Regions from separate parts of the Homo sapiens genome. Here region 2 is linked to region 1. The links are contacts of gene promoters, found by promoter capture Hi-C in human tissues and cell types (Jung and others, 2019). All regions are on one chromosome and are shown on one strand. The core of a region is centred on a gene start or on the middle of the fragment in contact, and the rest is flanking DNA. Distances in the headings are between cores, read along the strand shown.

Region 1 (6,087 bases), core at 1,922-4,421:
AATCACCCCACACCCTCAGCAGCAGGGGCATTGTGGGACTGTCCTGGTGAGATTCTGGAGGTCACCCCTGGGGCACGGCCCCCTCCTGCCTGTGGACTCCGCGTCAGCCCCACCGCAGCTCACTGGAAAAGAAGCCCTCTCCTTTCCCTTTTCTTGTGAGAGTTCTGGAGCCAGGCTGCTTTTGCAGACATACATTTACTTCCCCACACACATTTTTGGGGCACTTCCTTTGTGCCCTGCCTGGTGTGGGGACAGGGGTTTCCCAGCAATCGGTCCCAGAAGGAGGAGCAGGGGAAGAGGGATCATTCCTGGCAGGGGGAACCTGCTGGAGGAGGAGGGCTTTGGCTGAGCCGCGGTTTGTAACATGCTAAGGCATCTGGCCTTTCCCCTACATGTGCCTGGGAGGCAGGACAGCCCGGTCATCAGCATCACTGTCACCACCACTTACCCTGCCAGCCCGCCTACACCCATCATCTGGTTTGGTCCTCATGACCAGCTATGGGCCAGGTATCCTCATGCCCCTTTGATGGGCGCTCCTGGGCTTAGAGGGTGAGGTCACCTGCCCAAAGGCACACCCATAGCCACACCATGCCCTGCAGCCTTGCAGATTTGTGTTTCGAGCAGCTGCCGTAGGGAGGGACTGCTGGCATAGAGAGGGGAAGCTGCACCCACCCTAGGGCTGCCAATGGGAGGCCTGGGGTAGGGGGTGACCCTGCTGGAGGCTGGTCCACCTTGGCCGGCCAGACCTCATGGGTCTGCCTGCCTTGGGTCCTCTGGAATTGATCCCGGTCCCCCAACCTGAGCTTCACCCCTTGGAGGAAGCTTCTCCCCGTGAAGCCCTGTGCCCCTTCCCCGCAGAGAAGCATCTATTATTATTCCCTGCTGTACTGGGGGGGTAAACTGAGGCTGTGAGCGGAGAAGGGCCTTGCTGGGCACAGCCCAGGTCGCAGGCTGCCGGGCCCCTCCTCTCCCAAGGGGAGAGCTGGGCATCCTGCTCAGCTCAACTCCCCGGAAATTCTTTCCTCTGCGCCGCGCGGGTCCGCCCGGCCTCAGCCAGCCACGTGCCCCCGCCCGCCGCGCACTCCTCCCGCCCGGGGGCGGGCCGTACTCCTGGCCTCCGCGCCCACCATTGGCTAGAAGAGGTGGCCGTCTGCGCGTGTGGCCCGCCCCCTCTTTAACCCTGGGCCTCCCGGAGCTGGTGGCGCAAGTGTGGCCCCAGGGGCCGCTCCCAGGACCCTTCCCACCCAGTGGCCTGGCTCCCCTCGGCCCCGCGCTGCCAGACCGCGCCGCTCTGCGCCTTCAAAGGGCGTTTGTGAGCACCTGTGCCTGGCCTACGGCTGACTCAGCCTGGGGTCTTCGGGGTGTCCCAGGGTGGGGGCACCTTGTGTGCCGGAGTGAGCCAGTGCATTGTGATGTGTGTGCAGTGGGCTTGCAGATGGCTGGTGCTGCGACCTGTATCTTAAGTCTCCCTCCTTGGACTCCAGTTGGGCCATTGTCCCGTTGCCACAGACAGGCCGTAACTTCTCCACGCTCTGGGGCCTGTCTGAGCTTTCCTGCCCTGCAACCCCAGACCTATCACCTGCCCTCATCCTTCCGGGCGCCTGGTAAGAGCCCCCCAAGCTCTCTCCATTGCCCCTACTCTTTTTGGTGGCCCTTCTGGACACCCACCACCCCTAGGTCTGGGCCCCCAGCCTTGTTTCCAGAGATGTCCTGACTCACAGGAGCCTCATCCATTCACCCTGGCCAGGCTAGACCCCAGCCACACCAACTAGTGCCCCAAAGGCAGTGGGCTGGGCTCCCCCCTACGCTGCAGGTGGGCATGCAGTGGGGGCCCCCAGCTCCCCTCTCTACCATCTGCGTCCCTCCATTATGTGGGTGTCCCTGTGCATTTGTCCTTGTCCTGCCAGGGACAACCTGAAAAGCGATTTCACGCATGCACAGAAAGATCTAGAAGCCAGCAGACCCCAGATGGGCCATATTAAAGGACATGTGTGTGACACGTGGATGGGGCGTGCGTGTCAGTACATGTGTATGTGTGTTCCTCTGGGTGGGATCTGGGCTGCTATGACAGAACTAGTTTCCACTGAAGCTGACCCAAAAAGCTGCCAGCACAGCTCACACCTGACCCTCCCCTCGGAGCAAGCCCAAGGGTGGCCTGGCCACCTGTCAGCCTCCTGCAGCCTTGCCCGCAGGAAGCTCCTCCTCTCCCTTCACTCCATCCCACCATGACCCAGCCCCGACGCCGCTGGGGCTGTCCCAGCCCCTCTCCTTAGCCGCTTGTGCCGCCATCAGAGGGGCCTGTCTCGCTCCCCCAGACACAGAGCCTCTGTTTTCCTCACTCCGGGTCTGGAGTCCCCTGCTTAACAGCTTGGATTGAAGAGGCTTGTCTGGGGGGACTGAGACCTTGCAGATCATTCCAGGAGCCGCCTCCATCCAAGGCCAACAGCTTCATCAGGCCGCAGGCCTGGGAGAAGGTGGGACTGCAGTTGCCCAACATCCTGTGGCTGCCCACACGGACACCCCATGTGCACCCCAGGGCTGAGAGCAGGGGGAGCCATCTCCCTGTGTGTGGGACACTGCCTGCTGGGTGTTCCGTTCCAGCCCCTCTAGAATGCATGCTTGAATGGCCAGTGAGGCTGGGGGAGGGACCGAGAGGGAGCCCTCACCCCCAGCAGCACAGAGCAGGAGCTGGACGGTGGGGCTGGGGGTGAGGCCAGCTGAGAGGGGTCAGGTCCTGCCACGGGAGGGGGACTTTTAAAGTTCCTCCATGGCCCTGGAACCCTGGAGCCTCAGGAGTGGCAGGGGAGCTTCTCCGGTGAGTGACAGCCTCTCTGGGGTCTCAGGGCTCCCTGCCTGGGGCCTTAGGATTTCTGGGAGCTGCCTGCCCCGACAGCGTCCACCTCTCTGCCCCTACAGTGCCCGCGTCATTTTCCTTCCCTGCCTGGCCCTCACCCTGCAGCCCCGGTTGTTGGAACACCCTCCCCTGGACCCTGGGCCCCTGGAGCTACCTGCAGCTGTCCTGATCCGCCGAGGCCTCCTTTTGTGGAGGGCTCTTCCTGTGACTCCCGCCTCCGGCCGGCGGACCCGCCGGGGCAGCAGGCCAGCGCCGAGCGCGGCCCGGAGCCTTGGAAAATAGGAGCTCAGAGTAGAGCCCTCTCCTGCTGGAAGAGATGGCTTTGGAAGCAGAACCCGCCCCAAACCCAATTCCTGGCCCGGCAGGAGGGGGAGGGGGAGGGGAGTAGGAGGAGGGGCTGAGCAGGGCTGAGCGGGGATGAGGCTTCAGGAAGGAATGCCCCGCTCAGGAGCCCCCCCCAGAGCCCCACCGGGAACTCATCTCTCCGCCTGGTGACGTCACGTTGGCCCGAGCACTGCAGCCCGAGTCCAGCTGTTCATCTCCCTCACATTCTGCTGCTCGGCAGGGCTGCCCAGGAGAGGGAGCACCGGCTGTACACTTGCCTGGCGTCTTTGGTCTGCCCCCAGTGGGCATTTCGGGGCAGGCTGGCCCAGGAGGGGCTAGTCCCCACCCCGTTGTTTTAATTTACTCAGGGGCTGATACAGAGCAGTGGGGGGCAGCAGGGCGAGGGCTCCATGGAGGGGCAGTGCAGAACTGGCAGAGGTGGTCAGCACCGCCCAAGCGGCACCCCTCCCCCTTCCCACCCCGGACTCGGCCTGGGCCCCCTGGGGGCTTATGGAACCAGGAATTCCCTTTTCCCCAGCCCTAATAGCAATCAGATGGCGCAAGTGGAAAATCACGGCGCTCGGCAAGCAAGCTGGAAATTGGCGGGCTGTGGTGCCTGGTGCCTGCGCTGCTCAGCGGGAGGATGAGTCAGGTCCCCCTTCCCCATTGAGCCCCTGGAGGCGGGCGGTGGGGGGGGGTCCTGGAACGCGTTCATGCCTGGGGCACTGAGCATTGGTAGGGGTGGGGGTGCAGAGTCGGGGGTGCGGGAGCCAGCAGGGTGGCCAGGAGGAGGGGGTGATGAGAAGGCTCCCCTCCTACCCTGGGCCAACTTTCTCAGGGTCCAGGAAGCCCGAGGGAATTCTGAACTTTCCCTGCAGGAGTGTAGTGCCCAGACTGGGAGAGATGTGCCTCTGTGGGCATCTTGAAGGGAAATGAGAAGCGGAGCTGCCCCTGCACCTGCGCTGGGAGCTGCCTGCCTCCTGCTTGTCCTGGCCATGTGCGAACCTCAGCGTGGAAGAGGGACTCTCGCACTGCTCCCTGCGCGGCTCAGCTGGCCTCCTGGGGTCCGTTTTTCAGGGATGGGGTGAGGAGGGACTCTGGGATCCTGGAGGCTCACGGGCCATGCCTGAGGCTGAGAGAGAGGCTGGAGGCAGCAGGCAGGGTGGTGACCCGTCCCCTCCTCTCCAGGGCAGCCAGCTGGGGCCCAGCTGGAACGCTTGTTTACATGGGGAGGCCGGGGGAGGCTGAATCCCGGCGAGTTCCAAGTGTAATTGCGTTTGGACACTTAAAAGGAATTGTGTGAAGTGGGCAGAGGCTCTGAAGTCCACCGCCTTATTTGGTATGGAAATCTGTTTCTCTCAAAATAAGCGAGAGGCGCTTGTAAACGGGAAGGTCGTCCTGGCCTGAGTTTGTGGAGTCCCCTTCCCGTGGGCTTGGTGTGTCCGGCTGCTCTGTTGCAGTACCGCAGACCAGGGGCTTATCGGAGCAGGCGTTTGTTTCCCATGGCTCCGGGGGCTGGAAGGCCAAGATCAAGGCCTCCACAGATTCAGCGTCTGGTGAGGACCCAGCCTCTCACTGAGTCCCCATGTGGTGACCCCTTTCAGGCAGGCGAAGGAGCTCAATGGGGCCTCTTTTACTCGGGCATTAATGCCATTATGAGGCCCCACCCTCATAACCTGCTCATCTCCCAAACACCCCACCTCACACAGGAGATTAGATGTCAACACATGAATTCAGGGCAGTGGGGCAGCAGGGCAGGGGGTGGGGCCACAAACATGCAGTCTGTAGCAGCCACCCTGGGGGTCTCTCCCCACCCCCTGGGGGAGTGGTGGGCTGTGTGTGTGGGGTGGTGCCCAGAGGCCCAGTGCAAGGAGTTCCTGTGCTGCCTCCAGGCTTGGGTGACCGTGGACAGTTTCCTTCCCACTGGGGACCTTGGTTTCCTCAGCTGTCAGATGGGAAAAGATAATGACCCACAGGGTTATAGCAAGGAGGGATTGGATGCCGGGAGGAGCCGGGAGAAAGAGCTCTTCATGCACCTCAGCAACGCCGCTCCCTGCTCCAGGTGTCCCGCTGGTGCCAGGCCCTCCCTGCAAGGCTCAGGGCTCTGGCTGATGCTGAGAATGGGGCATGGTCCCTGCTCGTCCAGCCTTCACTTTCTAAACAGCCACCACTTGCCGTCAGGAGTCCTCCCCTGCCCCTCCCAGTAGAACTTTGTTTTTAATCATCCCTTGCCAAGGGCCTCATGGTCCTACGCCTCTCCCCATGTCCCCTCCTGAGGGTGCAGGCCTGGACCCTCCTCTGTTGGGGGGATCCTTGGGGGAAGGAGGTCGGTTCTGGACAGAGATGTCTCCCTGCCAGGTGCTTCTGTGGCCTATGGTTGCCCTGCTGCTCCCTGGACGAGGGGGTGGGTGTGGACCAGCCCTCGTGGCCCCTCTGCAGCCAGCACCATCCTCAGTAAAGACTACAGGTATTTCCTGAGCACCTGCAGGGTGCCAGGCACTGTGCTCTGTGCTGATGAATAGGACAGGCAAGGTCCCTGCTCTCCGGGAGCTGATGTCCAACAGAGAGGCAGACCAGGTCAAAGGAAACACAGTAAAATGCACCTGCGATGAAGAAGGTGTGCAGGGCCATTCGGCTGGTGTGGTGGCTCACGCCTGTAATCCTAGCACTTTGGGAGGCTGAGGCAGGTGGATTGACTGAGCTCAGGCGTTCCAGACCAGCCTGGCCAACATCGTGAAACTCCATTTATACTAAAAATACAAAAAATTAGCTGGGCATGGTGGCACACACCTGTAGTCCCAGCTACTTGGGAGGCTGAGACATAAGAATCACTTGAACCCAGGAGGTGGAGGTTGCAGTGAGCTGAGATCACGCCACTGCAGCACCCCAGCCTGGGTGAGACAGCGAGA
Region 2 (5,604 bases), core at 2,706-5,205, 320 kb before region 1:
TGGCCTCCCTCTTGACCTCATTGCCCGTCTCCATTGCTCTGCACACTTGATCTGTGTACGGTTCTTTCCAGAAGCTTCTCCTGCCCCGGCTCTGCCGCCCTGTCCCGGGGTGAGATTCCCACCCTGGGCTTTGCTCAAGTTCTCCTGGGCTTTCCCGCCTTGCAGTCCTTACAGGCCCTGTTCTGGGCCTCTCCCCAGGCCCCCGGGTCTCCCAAAACACTCAACTCCTCGGCTTGCAGAGCACCCTAGGTCAGCGGACCCCAAATCCTGCCTCCCTCTTCCCTTTCTCCAAGCTCCACACGGGAATTGCCAGATCGCCTGAAGGCAGCCCAGACAGGCTCCCCTCAAAACAAGGTTCAGGTGACCCTGCCTGCCCAAGCCTGTGTCCCCTCCCTCTCCCTGTCCTGTTGTTGTCACCTGTGTCAGCGGTGTCCCCTGCTGCCTGAGGTGAGCCCTAGCCCTAGATGGGACACTGCAGGCTGACACCTCCCCGTGTCCGCCCCCGCCCCTGTCCCAGGCCTCTACTTTCTCCACATCCTTGGTCTGTGCAGCAATGCCTTCTGACTTTCCTCCAAAGGAGGGGACAAGAGGAGGCCTTGGTTCCCTCCTGTAACTCACCTTCCCCTCCACACCTCACCATCCACCTTAAAAGCCTCCCTGTACTGCCTTCTGCCAGAGGAAGGATGTGAACAGCACGCAGGGCCTATCTGAGCCCCGCGGAGCAGCAAATGGGGAGAATGGTGCTCTTCTCCCCATGCCAAGGAAAGCTGACTTAGTTCTCAGTCCCAGAGTCGAATACAGCTTCCTCCTCCTGCAGACGCTTGTTTATCGGGGTCACTCAGAGGACCCCCAGAGTCAGGCTTTAAGAAACAGACACGGGGATGACAGAGCCGCCTGAGGCCGCGTGCGGATCGGTCCAGGCTGTTCACCACAGAGCCTGCTGGTCTCTGTGCGGCCCTCTCATCCTCTCCCTGCCCATGGAGTGGCCTGACCTGCCTGAGGGTCGGCTGATTTCCTCAACCCTTTGCAACCCTGAGCTCTGCCACTCAGAGGGCACCTCATCTTTGTGTGCTACGGGCCCAAAACAAAGGCAGAACTGGTCAATGAGAACATTTATCTGTGTTGCTTTGGAATATTGAAAATCTATTTGTCAAGAAGAGTTTGACCCCTAATTAGAAAACAAACTCATTTTCGCCATCAATTTTACGGCCCTGTTCAGCTGTAGCTAGACGAGTTGTTTGTCAAAATACTTAAAAATGTGCCTTTGATTTCTAGGATCTGCTAGAAATGCAGCAAAAGCAATGTTTTTGCACCAGCTGCTGCTGAACGCAGTGTGGCCGTGGCTGAGGGTGCATCAGTGACATGAGGCGACCTATGATTCCTCTATAAATTTAGCACCAAGAACGGCATCTCTGGAAATACGCGTTAATTCTCCTTTGTCTGGCCTTGTAGATGGCACAGTCCACCCAGGCCAACCAGCTGGAAACACAGAGGCGTCCTCACCCTCGTCCCCATCTCTCATTTCCATTTCCTTTCCTGCACAGCCCCAAATCCAGCCCTCCTCTTCACCCCACGCCTCTTGGTTTACAGCCTTCATCGTTTCTTCCCTGGAATTCTGGGATCTCTGTGCTTGCAATCACAGTTCCTCCATTTTCGCACCACGAAACACACCCACACACACACGGGAACGCACACACGCTCCTGCACCCCCCACCCCCATCCTGTCTCCCTCTGTGACCCTCTCGCTCCCTCTGTCTCTCTCCTTCTCTCTCTCTGGCTCCAGTCCATCTTGCACACAGCTGCCAGAGTGAAAATAAAAATCAGATTCAGTCACAACTTAAACTCTTCAGCGTCCCCCATGCTTTCAGGGACATGAGGACCCAGCTCCTGTTGTCTGCCAGGGAGTCACCCAGTTTGATGCCAGCTCAGTGCCAGCTCAGATGCCAGCTCCTCTGGACCCAGGCGCAACCCCTGCAACAGGGCAGGTTCTGGGCCTCTCCCCCACTTCAGGAGCCACACCTCCCTTTCTCCCACCCACCCTGTGCAAACCCTCACATTCCCTTTGACCCTGGTGTGAGCGGCCAAGCTCTTACCTCAGCTGGGTGGAGAATCGCTCCCTCTGCTCTGGTGTCTGTCCCTGGGCTCTATTTCACAGTCGAGTTGCGTGTGTGTGTTGGCTACAGGCAGCCCTGTGTCCTTCTTTGGGTGTGGGGAGGGCGTGCATGACAGTCACACCCAGAGGCTTTCCTCTCTGATCTGCAAACAGATGCCGTTGGCAACCACAGGTCATTCAGCGACAAGAATGGCCTCACCAGCAAGCGGGAGCTGCGGCCCGAAGATGACATGAAACCAGGTGAGAGGACTCCTATCCCGGGCCCCGGGGCACCTCACTTCCACCAGCTCCCAGGTGCATGCAGGGGACAGCTGTGGGTGTCGGGGCTGTCCACAGCTGCAGCCCAAGCCTGGCCATGACTTGACTAAGACGATGTGGCCTCGCCACACCTGTCAGCAGCTGCAAACAGAACGTGCAAACCCGAGACAGCAAGGGGTCCTTCTAGGCTGGGAGGCTGCCCAGGCACCAGGGCCTCCAGAAGAGCGGGACTGGGCACGATGGCTCCTGCCTGTAATCCCAGCACTCTGGGAGGCTGATGCGGGTGGATCACCTGAGGTCTGGAGTTCAAGACCAGCCTGGCCAACATGGCAAAACCCTGTCTCTACCAAAAATATAAAAATTAGCCAGGCGTGGTGGTGGGTGCCTGTCATCCCAGCTACTTGGGAGGCAGAGGCTCGAGAATCACTTGAACCTGGGAGGCGGAGGTTGCAGTGAGCCAAGATCATGACACTGCATTCCAGCCTAGGCAACAGAGTGAGACTCCATCTCAATTAAAAAGAAGAAGAAGAAGAAAAGCGAGGCCTCGAACTGGATATCTCCCCAACTCCCTCACATTGAACAAGGGCCTTGGAAAGCACAGCAGGGCCTCAGGCTGCTGGGATCAGATCATTGACCTTGCAGCGCCCAGCTCCTCTGTAGGGAGGGGGATGACCTGAGACACTGAAGCACCCTCTGCACAAGTCGTGAATGTTGATCTTTTCTCTTCTAGGAAGCTTTGACAGGTCCATACCTGAAAACAATATCATGCGCACAATCATTGAGTTTCTGTCTTTCTTGCATCTCAAAGGTATGTGAAATATCATCAACTTAACATTCATCTCTTAGTACACTGGAAACGTAAAAGGCCCATCGAGAAGAGAACCCATAGAATCCCCCTGGGAAGTAGCCGATTACTTATCTACGTACAAAGTCCTGTTTGGCTGTGTGTCGGGATAACAGAGAATGTAACACTAGAGCTAGCTCCAGAGGGCTGGGATTGCGGCAGGGGCATTCTACCGTCGTGGAGGGCCATCGGGCCAGCGCTGGTCCCAGGAAGAGAGTGGGCCTCAGGGTGCAGCTCATTCTACTGGAACCATATCTATTCACACGGTGACAACTGCTGTACCTTTTAGGGCAGAGGTATACTACAGGCCAAGTTCTTTGTGAACCGTCCTAAACCTTTTCTCTTTTCTTTTTTCTCTGTCTTTTCTTTCTCTTCTCTCTTTTCTTTCTTTCTTCTTTCTCTTCCTTCCTTCCTTTTTCTTCCTCCCTCTTTCTCTCTCTCTTTCTTCCTTCCTTCCTTCATCTCACTCTGTCGCCCAGGCTCGAATGTAGTGGTGCAATCTCAGCTCACTGCAGCCTCTGCCTCCTGGGCTCAAGTGATTCTCGTGCCTCTTCTTCCCAGGTAGCTGGGAAAACAGGTGCGCACAATTATGCCTGGCTAATTTTTGTATTTTTAGTAGAGGCTGGGGTTCATCATGTTGGCCAGGCTCATCTTGAACTCCTGGCCTCAAGTGACCTGTCTGCCTCAGTCTCCCAAAGTGCTGGGATTACAGGCGTGAGCCACTGTGCCTGGCCCTAAACCATATTTTCTAAGCATGGGAAATTAATAGAAGCCCATATCTTAGACTGCAGTGTTTCTCTATGCAGCCTTCCTGCCAGGCAGGCTGCCTTGAAATCTAACTGGAAAGGCTCTGATCCTGGCTTCCAGTGTCTTCTGCAAACACTGGGGATGAGGAGACCTCCGCACACTACGCTTGGCATTCATTCTACGATGGGCATCTGGCCTTGATCAGATAACCACACAGGTCCTACTGCAGCAGTGGAGGGAGCCGGAAAGCGGCCCCGGTGCTCTGAGGGTTAACAGGGAGGTGGTGGTGGGGAGGAGGGATGGACCGCTTTGCCTCTCCAGCAGAGAAGACCTTCACCTGGTGCTCTGAGAGTTAAGGGGGAGGCAGTGGTGGGGAGGAGGGATAGACCGCTTTGCCTCTCCAGCAGAGAAGACCTTCACCTGGTGCTCTGAGAGTTAAGGGGGAGGTGGTGGAGGGGAGGAGGGATGGACCACTTAGCCTCTCCAGTGGAGAAGACCTTCACCTGCTGCTCTGAGAGTTAACAGGGAGCTGGTGGTGGGGAGGAGGGATGGACCGTTAGCCTCTCCAGTGGAGACCTTCAGTTGCACATCACAGTTTTGTCCAGTTTTGAAAAATCAAGGCTAATCCTTGGGTTCATTTTGGATCAGGATGTTTTTCATTTGCAGTGTTATCGGGCTGCACTTTAGGTGGCGATGGGGAGAGGGAAGAGGAGTGAGGGGAGGGGAGCGGGGGAAGGAGACTGCCAGAGAAGGTCTTGGAAAAGGCGGTGTTCATTAGAAATCTCAAAACCGAGTCACCAAGTTCCCTCTGTTGGAGCCCAGTGGAGCCTCTGGGAGAAAAGCTGGGGTGACTTTTCCTACAAGGGGCAGAGGGACTCTGCTAGATTTTTGTTTTTCATTTGTTTTTAATTTTGTAACATGGAAACTCTTTCCTTAGGATATACCAGCTCTCATTACTCAGCTAGGAATTATACCTCTTTAAAGCCTGAATTTAAAAGTCTGACAGTTTTAAATGCTTACTAACTGTGGGAGTTAAATCATTACGAAGTGAGGAATACAGAGTGTTGTCCCTGATTCTGGGTTTAATCTGGTAAGAATCTTTACAGAGGACGACCACACGCCGCTTCCTGTAGCATGTGTCGTGGTTGTAATTCTCTCATGTGCATATTAAGAAGTTGCTGCTCAGATGTGGCTCTTCCCTTTGCAGAGGCCGGTGCCCTCGACCGCCTCCTGGATCTCCCCGCCGCAGCCTCCTCAGAAGACATCGAGCGGTCCTGAGAGCCTCCTGGGCATGTTTGTCTGTGTGCTGTAACCTGAAGTCAAACCTTAAGATAATGGATAATCTTCGGCCAATTTATGCAGAGTCAGCCATTCCTGTTCTCTTTGCCTTGATGTTGTGTTGTTATCATTTAAGATTTTTTTTTTTTGGTAATTATTTTGAGTGGCAAAATAAAGAATAGCAATTACTTGCAATTGTCTTTTTCTTCCACACCTCTGTCTCATCACCAGCGCCACCCATGGGTTTTAAAAGATAAAGCTTGATCATAATCGTGGATTAGACATGAATTTTAAACCCAAATTCTACCGTCAAGAGCATCTGAGACACCACCTGTTATTGCATGTCCAGGGGACATAAATTTAT

Evidence for each region. Contacts are between HindIII fragments. The study calls those that stand out against the background at their distance.
Region 2: a fragment that was not itself captured here is called in contact with the fragment with the promoter of MRGPRF in region 1 in 1 of the 25 tissues and cell types used here (H1 embryonic stem cells).

Annotation. Positions count from the first base shown.
Region 1 is chr11:69,010,075-69,016,161 of GRCh38, forward strand. It overlaps MRGPRF (MAS related GPR family member F), which reads right to left and starts at 3,172. Exons shown (of 3, transcript NM_145015.5): 1 at 3,009-3,172. It overlaps MRGPRF-AS1 (MRGPRF antisense RNA 1), which reads left to right and starts at 2,280. Exons shown (of 6, transcript NR_120541.1): 1 at 2,280-2,474; 2 at 3,717-3,830; 3 at 4,057-4,242; 4 at 4,367-4,517; 5 at 5,537-5,645. The HindIII fragment of the contact is 18,072 bases long and covers 1-6,087 here.
Region 2 is chr11:68,685,748-68,691,351 of GRCh38, forward strand. GAL (galanin and GMAP prepropeptide) reads left to right here. Exons shown (of 6, transcript NM_015973.5): 4 at 2,267-2,353; 5 at 3,102-3,179; 6 at 5,170-5,428. The coding sequence ends at 5,240. It overlaps LOC107984343 (a long non-coding RNA gene), which reads right to left and starts at 3,111. Exons shown (of 3, transcript XR_001748281.1): 1 at 3,045-3,111; 2 at 2,094-2,256. The HindIII fragment of the contact is 4,733 bases long and covers 1,590-5,604 here.